Regions from separate parts of the Homo sapiens genome. Here region 2 is linked to region 1. The links are contacts of gene promoters, found by promoter capture Hi-C in blood cells and fetal thymus (Javierre and others, 2016). All regions are on one chromosome and are shown on one strand. Each heading gives the region's core, a stretch centred on a gene start or on the middle of the fragment in contact. The rest is flanking DNA. Distances are from core to core; before and after follow the strand shown. Region 1 holds the start of KLRF2 (killer cell lectin like receptor F2). Region 2 overlaps LOC102724020 (a long non-coding RNA gene).

The links. The method cuts DNA at HindIII sites, captures the fragments that hold promoters and counts their contacts. A CHiCAGO score of 5 or more calls a contact.
Region 2: a contact is called between a fragment that was not itself captured here and the fragment with the promoter of KLRF2 in region 1, in 1 of 17 cell types (neutrophils). The highest score is 5.2, in neutrophils.

What each region holds. Positions count from the first base shown.
Region 1 is chr12:9,878,408-9,884,737 of GRCh38, forward strand. It overlaps KLRF2 (killer cell lectin like receptor F2), which reads left to right and starts at 3,082. Exons shown (of 6, transcript NM_001190765.1): 1 at 3,082-3,258. The coding sequence starts at 3,189. It also overlaps a transcript of CLEC2A not described here. The HindIII fragment of the contact is 1,448 bases long and covers 2,991-4,438 here.
Region 2 is chr12:10,017,721-10,024,050 of GRCh38, forward strand. All of the region lies in intron 2 of LOC102724020 (a long non-coding RNA gene), which reads right to left. It overlaps CLEC12B (C-type lectin domain family 12 member B), which reads left to right. Exons shown (of 6, transcript NM_001129998.3): 6 at 611-1,076. The coding sequence ends at 761. Among named protein-coding and RNA genes, the nearest start is that of CLEC9A, 9.8 kb to the right of the region's middle. The HindIII fragment of the contact is 6,473 bases long and covers 483-6,330 here.

The DNA of each region.
Region 1 (6,330 bases), core at 1,832-4,331:
AATGTCAGCCCACACGGAGTTTGAGCCAAGATGATGGCTTTTAAAATGGGAAGTAATGAATTTACTAGGGAAATACGCAGGGGGTTAAACTGACAGAACTTAATTACTAACTATATAGAGAACACTGAATAAATCTATAGTTTGGGAAAAACATTAAGATACAAATTTTAGACATCTTCAAGTTTTGATACTCTAAAATATTTCAGCATTCAATCCCACCAAATCTGTTAGACCCATACTGAGAGAATTGGCCCAGGCATAGAAGGTAAAGGGAAGAGAAGTTTCTGAAGGTACTTGATGGCCCTTGGGTAGAACTGAGGGGTCTGGCGCCCAGGATGGAGGGTGGGGGAACAGTTTTAAAGTTGCTACCTTTTATACAGTGAGGAGGCTAGGCAGTCATTGACCACCTTCTCTCTCCTTTCTACAGCCTCCTCCAGGCTTTGATTTCCTCTCTTCAAGGTCAGTTTTGTGAACCGATTTTTTAGGAGGATGGGGGGATGGAGAATGCTTTTGTGAGGGAACCTGGTGACGACCTGCTGTGGCAACTGTTCACTGTTGACTATAGATGTATTGGGAGATGCTACAGCGGAATCAGGCTTTCTGATATCAACGGCAATAATTTGATTCTAGAGGTCAAGGGGTTGCAGTTGCCACAATAAGCCAGAGGGAATGATTAGTAATCAGAGTTTTCATCCACAGAAATCTGTGACAATGATTAGCTGATTTTAAGTTTTGGGAAATGAAAAAAAAAGAAAAGAAAAGAAAAACAAACAAAAAAGGATATTTCACTAAGGAGCTGCTTGATATGCTAAGGAAAATTACATGTATGTTGCCCAGAAACTTAGCCCGTATTTTCAGAGAGGAGATTCATTGTGTCTTACCCAATCCCCAGACTTCCATATAGTTAGTAGGCAAAGCTCTTCGCAGACCAGGAACCACTCAACTGGGGAGGAGGTAGGTTTGGTCTCTTGGTGAAGGACATTGTAACATGGCCACAGGTGTAATTATGATATTTATTCCCCAACACCTAAACCGGAGGAAACTTCAGTCATTTTCTTGAATGACTATACACTGGGAAAAAGCTGAGAACCTGTGATGGTTTCCGGCTTGTATTTACAAACAGAAATAACAAGTATTTCTTTGCTGCCTTGCCCAGGTGTATGTCAGCTCTCCTGATCTCTGTTATAAGATGGCCCAGAGGGAACTAAATCATCTTGATATAGCTCCCAATATGTTATACCTCAGAACTGGTTGCACACAATAGATTCATTACATTGATGCTATCATGCCAACTGTTCCTGGTGAAAAGTAGGCAGTAAACCTACTACATATTTTTATAAGACATATGTTCACCACCATTAACTTGATCCAACTTGACCACTTTGACCCAATGAACCCTATGTTTAGAAGTGCACAGAAGCATTTTATCACAAACATAATTGTGCCATTTTGGAGGCAAGGCCTGAACAGTTCCAAAGAAGCACAGTAAACTGCATGAGCAGATGGCTCAGACTCCGATGGCACATGTTCGCATTCCTTTGCTATCTCCACCTCAACCATACCTATGACCCGGGTTGGGGATGGAAAAGAGGGTTCTGTACGATCTTACACTGAAGTAGTTGAAAAAAATAAGTTTATCAGTGGTTATGTAAAATACGGCAGCTGGAATAGATGCCACACTACAGTCCCATTCAGGAGAAGACTGTGAAAGACAGAAGTGAAGGTAAGTCTTCCCACTGAACAGAAGTTTGGACAATATGTCTGGTTGTGAACCTAACAGGAAGGATAAGCACTCAGAGAAATACATCTAAATCATCTTATCAGAAACTAATAGGTGAGATGACTTGTCGGAAACTCAAAAAGAACAAAATAGAAAAATGAATGAGAAGCTAAGAGGTACATATAGAGATCATGCAGAATGGACGCGGCGTGTGTAAATATTCATTCCCATGTAAATACTCACAAGTGACATCCAGTGTTGAGGAGGAGACTCAATAATCAGGTGAACACAACATGTGCTGTGGGAAACAGTCAGCCACCTTCCCCAGACACTCGGTGTTAAATCAATGGATTGATATTGAGTGGCCACGTAGCAGAAACAGAACCATTAGCATGTGTGTGTGTGTGTGTGTGTGTGTGCGTGTTAAGTGAAATATATATAAAATAAGGAATGTGATTATGGAGGCTGGTAAGTCAAAATTCTGCAAATGAGCATGGACAGACTGGGTACCTAGGAAGGCTCAATTCAAATGCAAAGTCCACCGTCTGTAGAATCAGGAGGAGCTAATGCTGCAGATAGTCTGAAGGCCATTGCTGGAGAATTCTCTCTCACTCAGGGAAGACAAGTCTTTTTGTTCTATTCAAGGCTCCAACTGACTCAATAAGGCCCAGTCACATTACAGAGGAGGCAAATCTGCCTTACTCAAAGGTCACCTATTTAAATATGAATCCCATCCAAAAACACCCTCACAGAAATAAGCAGAATGATGTCTGATCAACTATCTGGACTCTCTGTGACTCAGCCAAGTTGACACAAAATAAACTGCCACACCTACTGAAGGAAAATCTGCCTGGCGTTTTCTGAAAAACAAACAAACAAACAAAAAAGTTTAAAAAGTTAAATTCTTTGCAAGTGATTCCGATTTTCACTAACTTGAGACTTGCTGATCTTTTATTTTCCTATTTTTGTCCCATCTAACCATCGTTATTTGGACTCTACTAGTCAAATATGTCCCAAATAACAAAATTGCTATTTTAACTTTTTTAATTTGAATTTTTATTTACCTAGACATTTGTTCTGTTTGTTTAGAGATTATTTGTTTTATTTTATTTTTTCTCTTACTTTATTATAAAAGACATGAAGGAAGGAATTATGTTTCTAATACACCGCACACAAGTGGCAGGAACACACAAGTCCATTTGTTGAAAACAGTGGAACACACTAGCTACCTTTACCTTGAAATTCACAGAATTGTAGCCAGATATTAACAAGCTTATATCCATTTTCATTTACCAACACATCCTGTGTGGTTTTAGACATCTGTGTCTGAGTAAATTTTGACTATTTTTGGCCTTCCTTTTAGTTTTCTTTTAGTACCTTGTGCCAAAGAGACATATCCAAGGTTGAGATTAGTTTCCATTTTCTTTGTACTATTTTCTGGATAATAAGACATTAGACATTTGAAGAGATGGAGAATGAAGATGGGTATATGACGCTGAGTTTCAAGAATCGTTGTAAATCGAAGCAGAAATCTAAAGGTAGGAATACTGCTCCCCATCACCGCATTTAAAATTTCATTATTCTTCTAGGAAGAGAATTATCTTAGAATATTTTTAACATCTTAACATTGATCATAATAAGGAATATAAAAATGGTCATAAATTGTCTGTTAGATTATTTAGATTCATGAAAGCATCAACAATAAAAAGTCTGCATTTTCAGAGCCATGAGGTAAGAGAAATGCGAATATGACGATGTGTAATCCTGTGTGTTGTAGCATAAGAACATCACTTTCGAAGAAAAGGCTGAAAAATTGTGTTTTTACAGAAACTTCCTCCTACAAAACTTAAAGTTTATATAAACTTAAAGCGTATATATATGCTTATATATATATTTATGCTTATACATATATAATATTTTTAATCTTCGTAAAAGCCCTATAGGATTGGTAGAACAATCTACTGGGAATGCGAGAAGAGAGAAAAAAAAACAAAAAAACATTAATCTTTGCTCCTTAGGGCTGCTCTGTGGTTGGCTTTGTTTGCTTTTTCAGGAATTTTGAAAACAATCTTGTTGAAATAGCCAAGACCTAAGTTAAGATGACATAGGCCAGAAATTCAGAATTACCAGTCGCAGTGGCAGTTCTGCCATATGTATTGAACATTCTCGTGTACAATCTCATTTTATATCTAGCAAATGCAAACTTCCCCTGCACCCCCTGCCCCCACAAAATGACACTTTTGTTATTATCTGAAGACTCAGATCTTTTTTGTGTTTCAATATCATGAAACAAATGTTTACTTTTTCAATAGTAACTTACTTCCATGCAGCAAAAACTAGTACCATTGGTGTTAAATTGACTGAGGCAGACCAGGCACGGTGGCTCATGCCTGTAATCCCAGCACTTTGGGATGCAGAGGTGGGCGGGTCACCTGAGGTCAGGAATTCGAGACCAGCCTGGCCAACATGGTGAAACCCCGTCTCTACTAAAAATACAAAAAAAATTAGCTGGGTATGGTGGCGTGTGCCTGTAATCCCAACTACTTGGGAGGCTGAGGCAGGAGAATCGCTTGAACCCGGGAGACGGAGGTTGCAGTCAGCTGAGATCATGCCACTGCACTCCAGCCTGAGTGACAGAGCAAGACTCCATATATAAAAAAACAAAAAAAATTATTCAGACCCTAAAGCCCACAGACTAAATGTATGGCTCTGGGCAGAAGCTTTTAGCCTTCTTAAATCTCAATACTTTGATATATAATAAGAAAAATCTACCTGATGATGCTTTTATGTGGATGTTAAACTAAATTTACTATTTTTTAATCTATAAACTACTTTTTAATATACAAATGTGTACAGAGACTTAAAATCTGAGTATTGATACATAAAATATAAGATAATATCCATTTAAATTATGAATGAAGGAAGGATAGGGCTGGGAAAATAAATTGGGCCAGAAAAATTACTGTAGGCATGTTTGTGCTTGCTATACATTTGCTTCCAAGCTTCCTTGTTATTACTGACCTAAGGGAATTCTTACCAGTTGTTCAGTTCACATTGTGTATAAGATAAAGTTACACCTATTCCTTAAGATTGATATAATTAATCTTGATCCTAAATCAGAAAAAATATTTTCCTGAGTTCTCATGAAGCACATAAAATAATACAATTAGTGTTCTTGCAATAGTAGCACCAGCAGATTTTGTAAGACAATTTCTTCATATAGCCCTGTGTAAGCCAATGGCATCTAGCCAAGCAGTGCTAGGATAGGCCAGCATACTGCACTTCATGTACTCAGCTCTCTGTTCACCTGGCTTGATATAGTATGTAAATCATGGCTTACATGAAAATATTAATTTTTGGTCTATTGTTCAGTTTTTTATAAATCTTATTTGGCAAGAAGTTTAAAGTCTCCCTCCCTGGCATGTATGGAAAGAGCACTTGTTAACTACAGATCCATATACCCTTGATTGATATTTTCTCATAAAATTGCAGAAATGTATTTTGACGATTTTCAATTAAGTAGAAGTCTTTCCATATTTGCTTGAACAGCAGAAATATCTACAGGGAAGAAAAAGAAAGAAAATTATTTTGGACTTAGTAATACAGACAATTGAGTAGCAAATTTCAAAAGGTACACTACATACAGTAAATTCTCTAAGTATATACTATAGATCTAATCAAATGCAGTAAATCCATAAAACCTATTGAAGTAAAGCATCCACACAGAAATTAGATTTGAGAAACAGCACTTTTATTATGACTTAGAAGACAAATTATTTGTGAAATGTACAACCAAGGTGATGAAATTAAATGTTTGTTTATAGATAAAAGAATAAAAAATAGGGAATAATTATCAGAGTATCTCAAATTACTTTGCTTTCTCTTTGGCCACTAGCCTGGCAAACTGACTAAAATGATTGTAGATTGAGATATTAATTATATGATGTCTGCATATAAAAGGAACCTGTCATAGTTTTGTGAAAAAAGTGTATACATCCAATTTATTCAAAAGTGCTAATATGTGGAAAAAAGTAGATAAAATTGAAAGAGGATTATTATACATGCCCCTGTTTAACCTCTCTAGAGATTACTTGTTTATTCCTTTATAAGGAAGCTATTCTTGCCAACTCTAATGCGATGAAATACTATAGCATAGATGTCATATAAGCATCATTAATTGGAGATCTAATACTACCTAAGCTGAAACTGACTCCTGTCTAAAGAGTCAAACCCAGAAAAATATAATATATTACAGGTGTAAGGTGAAATAAAATGTGGATATTTCCAGTACAGTGACTGGTATATAATAGAATTTTAATAAATATTTCTTTCCCTCTTTTATTTCTTAGCAGTGAGTCACTAAATTGAATAACACACGTAATTGTGCCTGACATAGATATATACATTTTATATATTATTCTTTCTATATAATTTACATGTATAGAATAATATATATGTTTACATTGTATATATTTATATTTTATATAATATGTTATAACAAATATTTATATCATATATAATATGTATTTGTATGTATAATTTATATGGAATTTAAGACATCATTTTTAGGTCCTCAAAAACACCACCAAATAATTAACAAGTCTATGTCA
Region 2 (6,330 bases), core at 2,469-4,968, 140 kb after region 1:
GGCACAAAGAAAATTTAGATCTGACAAGTATAATTTTCTAAAGACATTATTTCAGGATTAACATCAATTTCTTAGCAGAGGAAATGAATACTATTGTCAGAACCATATCTATATAGTCAATCATTTCCTCTTTTAACGTCTGTCTTGTTCTCTTTTTACCCACCACATATGTATAACTATGTGAAAAATTATATTTGTGCATAATAAAATGTGATAACTTTTTACAACAGAATGTGATTTTATTTTTATGTTTTTCTTCATAAGGTCCCAAAGAACTTCAAGTACTTCTAATATAAGCTGAACTGATTAGATTTCATTAATGGAATTACATATTTATGAAGGAAATACAAATTCTCAGTCCAGGATTTAAGTATTTCTCTTAAAGAATTCTACCTGGGATTATGATTAACTTAAAATAAAGAACCCAGATGTGCCAGCTCTGGGCAGATTTTGTGCCAGCTTTAGGCAGCTTCAGATTTTGAAGCTTTGTGGAGGCAGAAGTCTCTCCATATTCAGATACATGACATTGGCTGTAAGAGCAACTGAGGGCACTAAATAGTGATCACGTTTCAAATACAGAATTTATAATTAATTTTAAATTAATTTTCAGATTTAGTACTAAAGAACTTGACCAGATCAATGGATCCAAAGGATGTGCTTATTTTCAAAAAGGAAATATTTATATTTCTCGCTGTAGTGCTGAAATTTTTTGGATTTGCGAGAAGACAGCTGCCCCAGTGAAGACTGAGGATTTGGATTAGTATGCTTCTTCCAAATTCTCCAAGAAGTAAGAGACTTGTGAGTAAGCTCATATGAGGAAAGAGGAAACTACGGTACCAGAGCCAAACCAGCTTTTAAAATGACTGTGTATTTACATTATCAGACAAATGAACTTGTTTAACAGAACATTCTCCAGTTCCTTGTCTGACGTCTTCTGATTTGATGTTATTATTCGGTCTTAAAATTATACCTGGGGACAAAGGGGAATAGCCATACTATGGCCCTATGATTGTCTCAGAATCATTTCACTGAATTTCTTTGCTTTCTCAAATAAAGACTCCTTTCTTTCATTATTATTATACTGTCACGTGTGCACTAGGGTGATATTTAAATATTTAAAAACTAGGGTGATATTTAAATATTTAAAAACACAGGCCACAGCACTAGAACAAGGTCCAAGAGATGCCTGTTGTGATAGTTGCTGGGTCATGTGGAGGTCTGGGGGATCCCAGGCTAAGGGTCCTGGTAGCTGGGGCTGCAGCACTGTATCAACTGATTTGGAAATATTTTATTTTAGCAAATGTTTGTACCACTGTGAACCAGCTAAGTGTCGCCCTGCACTTGCAAAATAGCTTTTCTTCTCCAACAACCCTATGAAAATAAGCGTTCTTATTAATCTTTAAAATTTAGATAATTTATAATCTAGGCATAATAATTTAATATTTACTTTTTTTTGAGACACTGTCTCACTCTGTTGCCTAGGCTGTAGTATTGTGATGTGATTGGCTCACTGCAGCCTCAATCTCCTGGGCTCAATCGATCCCTCCCACCTCAGCCTCCCGAATACCTGGGACCACAGGCATGCAACACCATGCTCAGCTAATTTTTGTATTTTTTTGTAGAGACGAGGTTTCACCATGTTGCCCAGGCTGGTCTCAAACACCTAGGCTCAAGCTATCTGCCAGCCTCAGCCTCCCAAAATCCTGGGATTACAGGTGTGAGCCACTGCCCCTGGCCAATATTTATGTGTTTGTCATTTATTTAAATTAGTAATATTGATGTTATTGATTTTGTAATCTGGGTATTATTATAAAAATATATTCTCTTACAATTGATATTTTGTTTCCCTCAGAAAAGTCCTAATAAACTGTTTGAAGACATCAAAATAGAAGAACCATTATCTTTAATTATTTAGACCTTTCCTGAATCACAGTTTGTCAGTGTTCCTGCACACTAGATGCTAAATATTGTAAATCTAGGGTTCAAGATTTTTCCTGGAACAAAATTGCTGATTTCAGAGTACTGGTAAAGGATGTAGTTTTCCATTTATCTTCACATAGTTCCATAGCTATATATAGGAAGAAAATAATGATAAATTAGCCTTTGATACTGATTTTGCTAGATCAGAAATCTAGAATTTACTGGAAAATTGATATAATCTAAATTCAAAGTTAGATGCATTTCAATACTTTGACAGTCCTTTGAAACTACCACTTCATACATACCATCTAGTAGCTTCTTATTCTCTAAATATTTAAAATTATCAACTAATCAATGTTTTATATAGGCACCAACAGAAACTCTAGAACAAAGGAAAAATGTCAAGTGTGAAAATTTAGTAAAAATTACAAACAATATATTTAAGCACAACTTTTTAAATACAGACAATTATCATAGTTCAAGTAAACAGTGTTTCTTAGTTCTTATACGGGATTCAAACATAAGTTATATACACATGGATTAAAGAAGAAACTTGATTCTTCCATTTCTCTTTAGCAGTTTGCCCCTGGCATTCTCACAAAGATAAAATTATTTCTTAAAGGTCAAAATCTGTGCCTCTGACTCTCACACATTTGGGTTTCGTTTTATTCCCATGAGAAAAATAAGTTCTTTCATTCCTCTATTTCTAATTAAAAAAATCTACTTTTAATAATTAAAATACCTTAGTTGGTTATTTTGTTCCTATTAAGAAGTTACAGGTTTTTTTTTCTGGTATCTTGTATATTTTAATTCTCATTTCATGTAAACTCTTTTATACTCATTAAAAGAAAATTTCTGTTTCTGACCTTACAGTGCTCTGGATCTTGATCAGCTCCTATTACTAAGAGCTCCCTCCCTGCTGCCCTGCTATCATCATATTATCCCTGACGACCTCTACAGTAGATGCATAAATCCAGAGTTCTCAAGATTCACTAGCCCTTTGTGTCAGAATACTTCATCCTTTGATTCTGATAACTTAGCTTATGAGACAGGACTTGATTCCAGAAATTTTCATCTCTTTCTTTTTCTTTCTTTCTTCCTCTCCTACTGCCCCTACACCCTCTCCAGTCAAAATCCCTGAGATATTTTATTTATATATACAGGTATATACAAATGGTATATTTTTAGGGGAAAGACCATTGATATGGTTTGGATCTGTGTCCTTACCAAATCACATGTCAAGATGTAATCCCCAATGCTGGTTGTGGGGCCTGGTGGGAGGTGATTGGGTTATGGGAGCAGATTTCTCATGAATGACTTAGCACCATCTTCTTGGTGCTGTTCTCATGATAGCGAGTTCTCGCAAGATCCGGTTGTTTAAAAGTGTGTAGCATCCCCACCAACCCCACCCCACACCCTCTCTCCTGCTCCTGCTCCAGCCGTGTGAAGTACCCACCCCTCCTTCATCTTCCACCATGACTGTAAGTTTCCTGAGGCCTCCCCAGAAGCCCAGCAGTTTCCAGCATCATTCTTCCTGTACCGCCTGAAGAACTGTGAGCCAATTAAACTTTTTTCTTTATAAATTACCCAGTCTTGAGTATTTCTTTATAGCAATGTGAGAATTTAACATGGGTTCCAAACATGGCTTCACATCAGATTTACATGGATAGTCCCTTAAAGGCACAGATATTTGGGCCACGCGTCAGATCTATAAAATCAGAATGATTGGAAGACAGAAATGGAGAATCTGTAAGTTTCTCAAACTACACAGGTGATTTTTATTAACACAGCCTGAGTGGCAATGTTTGGATAAATAACCTCAATACTAACTCCCTGAGCAAATAGGCCCAGAGGCGAAGGTGCTGGAACCATCTTCAAACTGGATGGCTCTTTCTGCAACGTTAGCAAATTTGGTTTGGTTTGTGCAGACCACGTTAGGTCAGGACAGATCAGAATTGGGACAGATATAGTGACAGTTCTCAACTATTTCACTGTTGTAATCTTAGCCAACAAGCCCTTACTGAGGGTATTAATTGGCATGGTTGGGATGGACAAGTGATATGAAGTTTGATCTGTTTAGCTCTCTGAAAATAGTTCTCAATTTTGCTGCACACTGAAATTATACTGGGGAGCTTTGAGGAAATACTGATGCCTAAGATTGTCCCACCTCTTAAGATGCTGATTTCATTGATGAGAAGTGTAGCTGGGCTATTAAAAAAATTTAAATTTCCTACATGATTCCAATCTGAAGCTAAGGTTGAAAATCCTTGTACTGAGGTTGGCCCAATGGCCCCTATTTTCAGTAAAATAGCCAACCCTCCATTATATATTAAGAAAACGGGTGAACTAGCTCCATTGGTGATGATTACACATGGTTGAGACAGGGACAATAATGATGATTACCTGAAACTAGGATTGATGGTATATTCGAGGCTGCATACAAGCATATATAATCATACTTGTATACATTTGTATGCACCTGGAGAAGGATTTAGACACATTAGTAACATTGTTTTCCTCAGGGTAGGTATGATGGAGTCAAATTGGGAAGAAGGGGAAATGATACACTTTTGGAATGAGAATCCACTGTGAAGCTGAGGACTGAAATCAAGAGTCAGATTATAAATAGGTGGCCAAAATTAACAATGTGGTCCTCAAGCAAATATAATTTTTTATTCCACAGGTATATTAGTTTTACTGAACAAGTAACTACAAGTAATACACCTGTCTGTCTGACTTCCTAAACTTCCTTCCTTCTTTCTTTCCTTCCTTCCTTCCTTTCCCTGCCTCCCTCCCTCCCTTCCTCCTTTCTTCCTTCATTCTTTCCTTCCTTTCTCTCTCTCTTTCTCTTTCTCTCTCTCTTTTTGAGGGTATATAATAATATAAATATAATAAAACACATCTCCTCTCAGTTCTTTCAAAATATGTCACAGCTTTCAAGCAGGCGGAAGTATCCCAACCCCTTATTAGGAAGCAGTACAGCTTGGTGCTTAAGACAATAAATTTTTTAAATCAGACAGCCATGGGTTATGTTTTTATTCTCAATGTAAGTGCTGTATATTTTAGACAATGTCTCAGTCTGTTTTGCGCTGCTATAACAGAATGCCTTAGACTGAGTATTCTATCTATTTCTTGGCTCACAGTTCTAGAAGTTGGGAAGTGTAAGTTAAAGGCACCAGCAGGTTTGGTGCTTGATGAGGCCATTCTCTTCTTTAAGAAGGCAACTGTAACCTTGGGAACGGAGGAAGGTGGGATCCTCATGTGGCAGAGGGCAGAATGGCCAAGAGGCAAAAGGGGATGGAACTCATCCTTTTATAACAGCATTAATTCCACCCATGAGGGCTGTGCCCCTTAATGATCTCTTTGTTTGTTTTTATATTTAGAGACAGAGTCTTGCTCTGTCACCCAGGCTGGACTGCAGTGGTGCGATCACGGTTCACTGCAACCTTGAACTCCTGGGCTCAATTAATCCTCCTGCCTCAGTCTTTTGAGGAACTGGTAGGTACCACAGGTGGGCACCACCATGTTCAACTATTTTTCAAAAATAAATTTTTTGTAGAAATGGGATCTTGCTATGTTGACCAGGCTGCTCTTGAACTCCTGGCTTCAAGTGATCCTCCTGCCTTGGCCTTCCAAAGTGTTGAGATTACAGGTGTGAGCCGCCTCACCCAGCCAATCACTTCTTTAAAGTTTCACACTTTAATAACTATTATAATGGTAATTAAATTACAACGTGAATTTTGGAGGGTACAAGCATTCACACCATAGCAGACAGGGCTCTTAAATTATGTAAACCCTTTTCATAATAGGGTGACAAAACTCGTGCCCATCCTCTGAGATTTTTGTGAAGAAAACAAAAAGAGAGATAACCCACATGGTACAGTGAAGACCCAGTTAAGTTTAGCTGTTCTTACATTTACCATCCTCTGCTTCCCCTTAGAGAGCAGATTTGCATGATCCTTCCAGTCCCAAGAACATTCCTGCATTGGGTGCTTAGCTTGGTTTTCACCACCAATGATATTTTCCTTGGGAAAATTATCTCAGTGTAACTGAAAGGCAACAGTTTTTAAATACAAACACAATAATGAAAGTTGGTTCAGCGGCTGAGCATCAGCTCATCAGGGAAGAGAAATCATGGAGGGGAGCAACAGGGTGAATAGTAGATGGCAGGTAGCCCTAGGTAATTACCTGAGACAGGCACTATATTGCCCATGGACTATTTTTGTATCTTCTGTGCCCTTTGTGATGTGGAGGCCAGAAACGAGGTGGACAAGGATAGGGTCCAGACCCTTTCACCTTTTTGATTCCTTAGCATAGCACTGGAAATTGTAGGGAAACACTAATTGTTACTGTTATAGTTACCAAGGCCATTATTTTCAGTTCTCCAGCTTTCTTTGTTTCTAGACAGAA